Regions from separate parts of the Homo sapiens genome. Here regions 1 and 2 are each linked to region 3. The links are contacts of gene promoters, found by promoter capture Hi-C in blood cells and fetal thymus (Javierre and others, 2016). All regions are on one chromosome and are shown on one strand. Each heading gives the region's core, a stretch centred on a gene start or on the middle of the fragment in contact. The rest is flanking DNA. Distances are from core to core; before and after follow the strand shown.

Region 1 (2,700 bases), core at 18-2,517, 260 kb before region 3:
AACCTGCCACAGTGAATTTGATTGACTGCTAGTTTGAGATGTGATTGATAAGCCTGCCAAATTTTATAAAGAAAACTTTATATAATGTTTACATTTATAAAATGTTTATGTTTTATAAAGAAAACTTTGTATCTCTCAAGAGAGGGAAATCCAGATTGCCTGGTACCAGCATTTATCATACAGAGAATCTTGGATGTTACTCCCAGTAAAATGTGCCCCTAATTTATACTATAATGAAAATAAAACATAGTTGACCTCTAAAAGAGCAATCAACTGCTTTCAAGTGAACTGCCACATAATGCTAATTAGTTGAAGATTATGCTCTGTTCTCCTTAATGAATTATAAAAAGCAAAACACTAAAAATTAACTCGGGAAGACAAAGTAACTGGTGCTTCCTGCATTTTTCCTTGTTCTTTGTCTTTCTAGGATCCCAGGAAATGTGGGCAACTCATGAGAAGGTAGTGCCCTGGATGGAAGTTAGCTGAACAAAATCAGCTTACTCTAAGCCCTTCTGGCCTCAGCCCCTTTTCTGGATTTTAAGAAATCCAGCAATTGATACAAGATTATAGAGTATACCACTCAGTGAAGTTCAGAGTTCTACTACAGAAAGCCCAAGCCTTGATTTACACTTAACATCTAGGAGAAATGGGAAAGAATCTAGCCATTACTTTCCCCAACAGAGGGATCTGTATAGATGAGATGACCAGCGTAGCAAGCAGCCTGCTATTACCTAATCTCTCACCCAGGATTAACATTAACATGGGCTTTCTAACATTTCACTTTTTACAAACTAGTCTTTAAGATCTTTTTTTTTTTTTTTTTTTTGAGTCTCGCTGTGTCACCCAGGCTGGAGCTCAATAGAGTCACCTCAGCTCACTGCAACCACCATCTCCCTGGTTCAAGCAATTCGCCTGCCTCAGCCTCCTGAGTAGCTGGGATTACAGGCGCACACCACCACACCCGGCTAATTTTTTATGTTTTTGGTAGAGGCAGGGTTTCTCCATGTTGGCCAGGCTGGTCTCGAACTCCTGACCTCAAGTGATCCACCTGCCTCAGCCTCCCAAAGTACTGGGATTACAGGTGTGAGCCACCATGCCCAGCCTAGTCTTGAGGTTCTTAAGATATATAGAAAAAGGAATGTAGATTTTGTTAAGCCTTGCTCTTTTTTTAAGACTGGTTTTATAAATTACAAAGACAAATCCTAGGTTAGAAGAGGCCATCAAGATCAAAGTATTTCTTCCTTAAAAGGATGAGTTTTCATTGTTAATCAGAGGCTAGTTTTAACGGTAGTACTTAAATTAACTGTCCTAGTAGAAAGCTGGAACCTGGAAACTCCTTTATTCTGCCTCTGTAGAAATGGCTTTATACGCCGGGCGTGGTGGCTCATGCTTGTAATCCCAGCACTTTGGGAGGCCGAGGCGGGCAGATCACCTGAGGTCGGGAGTTCCAGACTAGCCTGACCAACATGGGGAAACCCCATCTCTACTGAAAATACAAAATTAGCAGCGGGTAGAGGTGCATGCCTGTAATCCCAGCTACTTGGGAGGCTGAGGCAGGAGAATTGCTTGAACCTGGGGGTGGAGGTTGCGGTGAGCCGAGATTGTGCCATTGCACTCCAGCCTGGGCAACAAGAGCGAAACTCCATCTCAAAAAAAAAAAAAAAGAAAAAAGAAATGGCTTTATACACTATTATGGCAACAATTGAGCTCCTGGTTTCGGTGGACAGTAAATGTTTATCTTACAGTTGTGCTGGGCGAGAAGTCAGGAAAAGGAGCTGAGTGTGTAACTGTGATTTCCTTTTCCGTAGTGTGTTCCATGGGAACCGGTACAAGCAGACTCTATAGTGCTCTCGCCAAGACACTGAACAGCAGCGCTGCCTCCCAGCACCCAGAGTATTTGGTGTCACCTGACCCAGAGCATCTGGAGCCCATTGATCCTAAAGAGCTTCTTGAGGAATGCAGGGCCGTCCTGCACACCCGACCTCCCCGGTTCCAGAGGGATTTTGTGGATCTGAGGACAGATTGCCCTAGTACCCACCCACCTATCAGGGTTATGCAATGGAACATCCTCGCCCAAGGTATGCTGGATGCTTTTGTGCCTCTGCAGTCAAGTTTGCTGTGACTGCCTTTCTGCTTCTGCACATCCACAGTGCACTGTTTTATGTGGAAGGAAGAGGTGTGGGCAGATGGAGGTGACTGCAGCAGCATGGAGAGCTCCTAGAAGAGGTTAAGACAGGGAATCATCTGGTTTTCACTTTTTTTTTTTTTTTAGAAAGAAAAAAGACACTTTAATTGTTCTTGGATAGTCTACAAACATGGAAGGTGTAAAGAATAAACCACGAGTTACTTGCTTTAATTGTAAAAACCAAGTCAGGTGCAGTGGCTCACACCTGTAATCCCAGCACTTTGGGAGGCCGAGGTGGGTGGATCACCTGTGGTCAGGAGTTCGAGACCAGCCTGACCAACATGGAGAAACCCCGTTTCTACTAAAAATACAAAATTAGCCGGGTGTGGTGGCGCATGCCTGTAATCCCAGCTACTCGGGAGGCTGAGGCAGGAGAATCGCTTGAACCCAGAAAGTGGTGGTTGCAGTGAGCTGAGATTGCGCCATTGCACTGCAGCCTGGGCAACAAGATCGAGGTTGCAGTGAGCTGAGATTGAGCCACTGCACTCCAGCCTGGGCAACAGAGTGAGACACTG
Region 2 (2,700 bases), core at 104-2,603, 360 kb after region 3:
GGAAGAAGAAAAGAAAGAAGAACGAGGGAAGAACAAGAAGAAAGAAAGAAGAAGGAGGAAGAGGAGGAGGAGAAGGGAGGGGGAGGAAGGGGAGGAGAAGGAGGGGAGGGAGAGGCGGAGAAAGGAAAGGAAGAAGTGGAAGAGGAAGAAGAAAGAAAGAAAGAAAGAAAGAAAGAAAGAAAGAAAGAAAGAAAGAAAGAAAGAAAGAAAGAAAAGAGAAGCAGGCAAGCAGTTTTCAAAGTTCTTTATCATCTTGCTAAGGTAGCTGAAGGATGCAGTCACAGGCCCGCATGCACAGGAGGGCTTTCCTGTTTGGGGCCAGTAGGTTTCTTGTTTTGCTGTGTTTCCTTTCTTTTTGTGCAGGACGTGACTTGGCCTCCGATCTAGACACATCGGTGTTTTTGTGAGTCATGTTCTAACAGGATTGTGCTGTGTTGAAATGACTGTTGTTTGGTGTGTCAGCCCAGATGCAGGTTTAGCACCACATTTCAAAGTGAATAAGAGCTGCTTTTAACTGTTTGTTCTTAATCCACCAACCTTTTGTGTTTTCTCATCAAAAGAGGGGTAGCTTGCCCTTTTTCTTTTGCCTTAAGCCCCAGAGAGACACCAAGTGAAGCCACGGTACCCCTTTTTTTCTTTAAGTAGCCCAATCACATAATATGCTGTAGGTTTCAAGAGAGTAAACTCTCCTCTGGTGCATAGAAATCTCAGTAAGTTCTCTGAGGCAGTAGTTGGTAGTCCTGGAGATTTTTCAGTTAAATCAGTGTTTATTTCAAAAACGCCCTTGGTGATTCTAATGTGAGAATCACCAGTCTCCATGCACTTCAAAGCCAGTGGGCGGGGAAGTACTGGGCCCAATCAGCTGAGACTCGGCTCCAGCCACACTTACCTTTGCTGGTGCCTCAGAGCCTGTTGCCCCATCTCAGCCTCAGATTTCCCTCCCATGTCTGTCTGTCCTTCTCTCTTCCACCCAGGCATACTGTAAACTCCTCCAGTGGAAACCAGCATTTCTCCTGGGCTGCACCCGTGAGGCCTACAGGTCCCATCTATTCCCAGCCTCACCTCTTCCCTTCTGCCACTGCAGAACCTTCCACACCCCTTTCTCCTCTATCCTGGCACCACTGATGCTCACTTTGGGCACCTACCAGATTATTCACCCCCTCAACAGCCCTGCCCCATCTTCCCTCTTTTGGATGCAGTCAAATGGAGTGATTTGTCAAGCTCTTGAAGCTTTCTAGGTCTCAGTTTCAGTTTCCTTATCTATAAAATGGGAATAATTTACAGGCTCCTGGGAGTTTTGTGCAAGTTACATGAGACCATGTGTGCTTTGCTGGCGTGTCATAATGGATCCTGGATGAGGCCCAGACATCTGTGTGTTTCTGTCACCTCCAGTGTGGTAGCAGTGGTATGGGCTATGCTGAGAAACATTGGTTAAGACAGTGGTTCTCCACCTGGCTGTGCATTAGGATTACCTGGGAAGCTTTAAAACGTTCAGGTGCCTAGGCTGAACCTGAGCTAATTAAATCTGAAGTTCTGTAATTTTTAATGACCCCTCCTCACATGATTCCAATGTGCAGCCAAAGTTAAGAGTAAAGGCTCTGGGGCAGCAGGACTGGGTTGTACTGACTCTGGGCCAGTCACTAACCTCTCAGCCTCAGTTTCTCCATCTGAAGAATGGGAATAATATATGCACTTTACTGTTTGACTATGCAGATTAGTTGAGATAATTCTGTCCAGTGGTTGGCATAGGGCCTAGTACAGTGCCTTCTGTTGACTGGATTTGGGAGCTGGCAGGGTGGGCATGAGAGGCCCCCATCAGAGTGAGGCCTTCTCAGCAGCCCTGGGCTCATCCAGAACACCTCAGGCCTCTGGGCTCCAGGCTGTCCCGTCTCTTGCTGCTCTATCCCAGCAAGTTCAACAGTCGAGCTCTGAGCATGGCCTACAGGAGCCAGGGCACGTTCACGCCAGTGACCCTGTTTTAAAGTATCTAATACAAAGTACTATTCAGTTTAAAAAGTTTGTAATGATTCCATGAAAAAGGCAAACCAATAGTATTAGTTGTTTTTGTTGTTGCTTAATTGCCAATATGCAGTATGTTACCTAATTTATGGGTTCAAATTTGATTTAAAACACAAAAGCAAAAAAAAAAAAAAAAGAATAGAAAGTTTTGTTTCATGTGTGGTAACCTGGAAACATGGCCACCATTTATATTATTATTATTATTTTTTGAGACGGAGTCTGGCTCTGTCGTCCAGGCTGCAGTGCAGTGGCACGATCACAGTTCACTGCAACCTCCGCCTCCTGGGTTCAAGTGATTCTCCTGCCTCAGCCTCCTGAGTAGAGTAGCTGGGACTACAGGCACGTGACACCATGCCTGGCTAATTTTTCTATTTTTAGTAGAGACAGGGTTTCACCATGTTGGCCAGGCTGGTCCTGAACTCCTGACCTCAAGTGATCCGCCCACCTCGGCTTCCCAAAGAGTTGGGATTAGAGGCGTGAGCCACCGCTCCTGGCCATAATATTATTTTTGTGAAAATATGTGTTCTGAGGTCTAAACATTCAGCTTACAAATTTCCTTTTGGAACGTAAGTTTTTGTAGAGTATGTAAGTGTATGAGTGTGTGTTTTGAATGTGTGATGGGAGTACATGAATGTGAATGTGTGAGTGCACAAGTGTGTGTGCGTGTGTGTGGGTGTTTAT
Region 3 (2,700 bases), core at 193-2,692:
GCAGTGAATTTTGCAGGTTATTACTAAGTAACAGCTTAAAAATGAATTATAAGCTTGTTCTTAGTTTTATAAAGTTAAGGTTAAAATACTGGCCATATTTCAAACTGAAACATAGTTTCCTGTATATATGATTTTTCTCAAACTTTTGAAGAGAGATCACAGAATTTAAGGAAACTCCAGGATTTGACTGTTAAAAACCTTATTTATGACCCCGGTGAAGGGCGAGGACAATCAATATAGCAGCTACAAAACCCAAGTTTATATTGGGAAACATGTATCTCAACTCACACCTTTCAGGGACAGTTAAGAGAAGTTTGAAAATTAAAATATCTTTGCAAATAAATTTAAAACAGTAAAAAACACGCACATATTGTTTAATAATTCATGATGCAAAGAATGCTACAGAGTGAAATCAGGATTTGGAAAGAGGTAATCAAAAACCAAAGGTTAAAAGTGGCTCATATAACTTGAAAATTTTTAGATCAATGGAATGCCACTTTGAAAAAGTTTTACGGTCAGCTGTTAATGAAATGACTTACATTTTTGGAAGGACTCCTATTCGGTATGTAGTCTGACCTCGCCTACTCGAGTAGTTCCCTCTAGTATCCTTGCCAGTCTTTGGCTTCTAAGATCTGAGAATTTCTGGGGATGGGGAGTTCGAGTCACAATATTAAGAACTAGTTTGAAGCCAGCTCCAGGGTAGTCTGTCTTTAAGTCTCCACTACTCCGCTCCAAGGTGACTCATAAGGTCGGTCCGTCAACTCTGCATTATATGGCCTCAACAACGAAATTAAAACACATACTTTAACCTCCAGAGCCTCCTTTGGCAGTGCAAATATGTCACTTCGGATCTGACTAACTACCTTTCCAGGCTGATCTTAAGCAACATTCACCAAATTACCGATACGACAGCCAGGCCCATTTCATCGGTCAAGCTCTTTCACGATTTCCAGACTCTGTTAAGCCCCTTTCTCCCCAGGGCTGTTAACAAGTCTCCACTGCGGTGAAGCTTTTTTCATTTTCCACTCCGCCTCTGCTCCTTAAATTAGGCATTTCGTCCATAATCAACTACAGCGCTTCTCAAACACCTACACCTGTATTTTAGCACTTTGGGCTCAAACGATGATCACACAGTGTGCGAGACTCTTTCCAAGGAATGAAAGGTCGATCTAGCAGGAAGGCGCCAGAGAGGCTGTTTTTGATGAGGAGGCGGTCTGAACCGTACTTGCCTAGCCTCCCGTAGCTCCGCGGGCGCTTCGAGGGTACCACGCACTGAAATGATGGGCGGGGCCTGCCCCGACCCTCCCGGCCTCCACAGGCAGGCCAGCCTCCAGGTTTCCCGGCAAGCTCCGAAACCCAGAGGAGGTGGGGAAAGGAGGTCACCGCGCCTGCGTGTTAGGAAGCGTGACCCGGGTGGGAAAACCCTCCGCGTCCGCCATTTTGGCTGCCTCTGTCGGTCTGTTCAGTTACCACGTGAACCGCCGACGGAGACCCGTAGTGGGGGAGGCGGCGGCAGCGTTAAGTGAGAAAGGAAAAAAGACAACGAGGAAAAAGGAGGTGTCCGGGTAGGGCAACGCGGCGACACCCGAGGCCTGGTGGTGGCGGCGGATCGAGATATTCAAGGCTGAAGCAGCTACGGAACGGCAGCGGCGGCGGTCGGACAAACTGACTGACCGAGCCGGGTGGTGGCGGGAGCAGCGGGAGCAGCCGGAACGATGCCGGCCGTGAGCCTCCCGCCCAAGGAGAATGCGCTCTTCAAGCGGATCTTGGTAAGTGTGAGGCTCCGGGCAAGCGGTGGGGAGGATTTAGCCGGTAACCGGGCCTGTCACCCCTAACCTCGGCCCGGCGGGCACTGAGCCACTCCCGCCCGGGACCCCGCCTTCATAGCTCTCGTCAGGCCGAATGCATTGCTTTGCTCCCTCTCTGTGGTTCCTACTATGGCCCGCGCGCCAGGGACCACAGGCTTCTTCATTCCATCCCCACGCTTGAGGCCCTGGTTCCGGACTAGGCCCCGACCTCCCGGCTTCTAGACTGCCGGTTCTCATTCTCCCCGATCTGGGGGAGAAGAGGCCCGGCCTTTGGCGGGCAAGTGGGCGACACCGGCAGGAGTCGCGGCCCGGTTGGTGTGGGAACCCTGCTGGCAGGTCGGGGTGGCACCCTTGGAAGGAACAGGTGGTGCGGATGCAGCAGGCTCATTCATTGCCTAAACGCGGTTCTCCCTCCATCATCTGTCCCTCCCTCTTCCTCCTCTCTTGGGATTCACCTGTCTCCGCCCGGCCCGGGGTCACCCAATGACCTGAGAGGAGGGAAAGAAGGAGTTCAGAGAAGGAAAGAAAGCTTTTCAAACGACTACCTCCTTGTAGTCAGTTGCATACTGGAGTCTTCAGCTCCTCTGCCTCCGTTGTTCTCGTTTCTGGAGTAGGGATGAGGCATTTATTTCTTAGTTTCCGAGCGGGAAACAGCCCCACCCCGTCACTCTTCTCGGGAGGTGGGGCCCATTGCGAGGGGGCGGTTCGGTAGGAAGTAAAAAGTTGAGTCTTTAGTTGAAACGTTGCAGACCTAGACTTTTCTTATACACTGAAGTATATTAACACATGCAAAAACTTACCAGAGAAATGAGAATATAAGAACTTTTGAGATGGATTTTGTTGACGCTAGCTCAGACTTATTCCCTACGGTTCAAATGTGTGCAGTTTGTAT

Evidence for each region. Contacts are between HindIII fragments. The CHiCAGO score rates a contact against its expected background, and 5 or more counts as called.
Region 1: a contact is called between a fragment that was not itself captured here and the fragment with the promoter of NAA15 in region 3, in 13 of 17 cell types (total CD4 T cells, total CD8 T cells, non-activated CD4 T cells and 10 more). The highest score is 16.5, in total CD4 T cells.
Region 2: a contact is called between a fragment that was not itself captured here and the fragment with the promoter of NAA15 in region 3, in 1 of 17 cell types (total CD8 T cells). The highest score is 5.0, in total CD8 T cells.

What each region holds. Positions count from the first base shown.
Region 1 is chr4:139,041,266-139,043,965 of GRCh38, forward strand. NOCT (nocturnin) reads left to right here. Exons shown (of 3, transcript NM_012118.4): 2 at 1,809-2,078. Among named protein-coding and RNA genes, the nearest start is that of NOCT, 27 kb to the left of the region's middle. The HindIII fragment of the contact is 7,272 bases long and covers 1-2,700 here.
Region 2 is chr4:139,657,522-139,660,221 of GRCh38, forward strand. No RefSeq gene overlaps it. Among named protein-coding and RNA genes, the nearest start is that of MGST2, 6.9 kb to the right of the region's middle. The HindIII fragment of the contact is 250 bases long and covers 1,229-1,478 here.
Region 3 is chr4:139,300,063-139,302,762 of GRCh38, forward strand. NAA15 (N-alpha-acetyltransferase 15, NatA auxiliary subunit) reads left to right here and starts at 1,443. Exons shown (of 20, transcript NM_057175.5): 1 at 1,443-1,769. The coding sequence starts at 1,716. It overlaps NDUFC1 (NADH:ubiquinone oxidoreductase subunit C1), which reads right to left and starts at 2,415. Exons shown (of 6, transcript NM_001184989.2): 1 at 2,354-2,415. RefSeq lists enhancers at 834-953, 1,434-1,493. The HindIII fragment of the contact is 1,328 bases long and covers 1,008-2,335 here.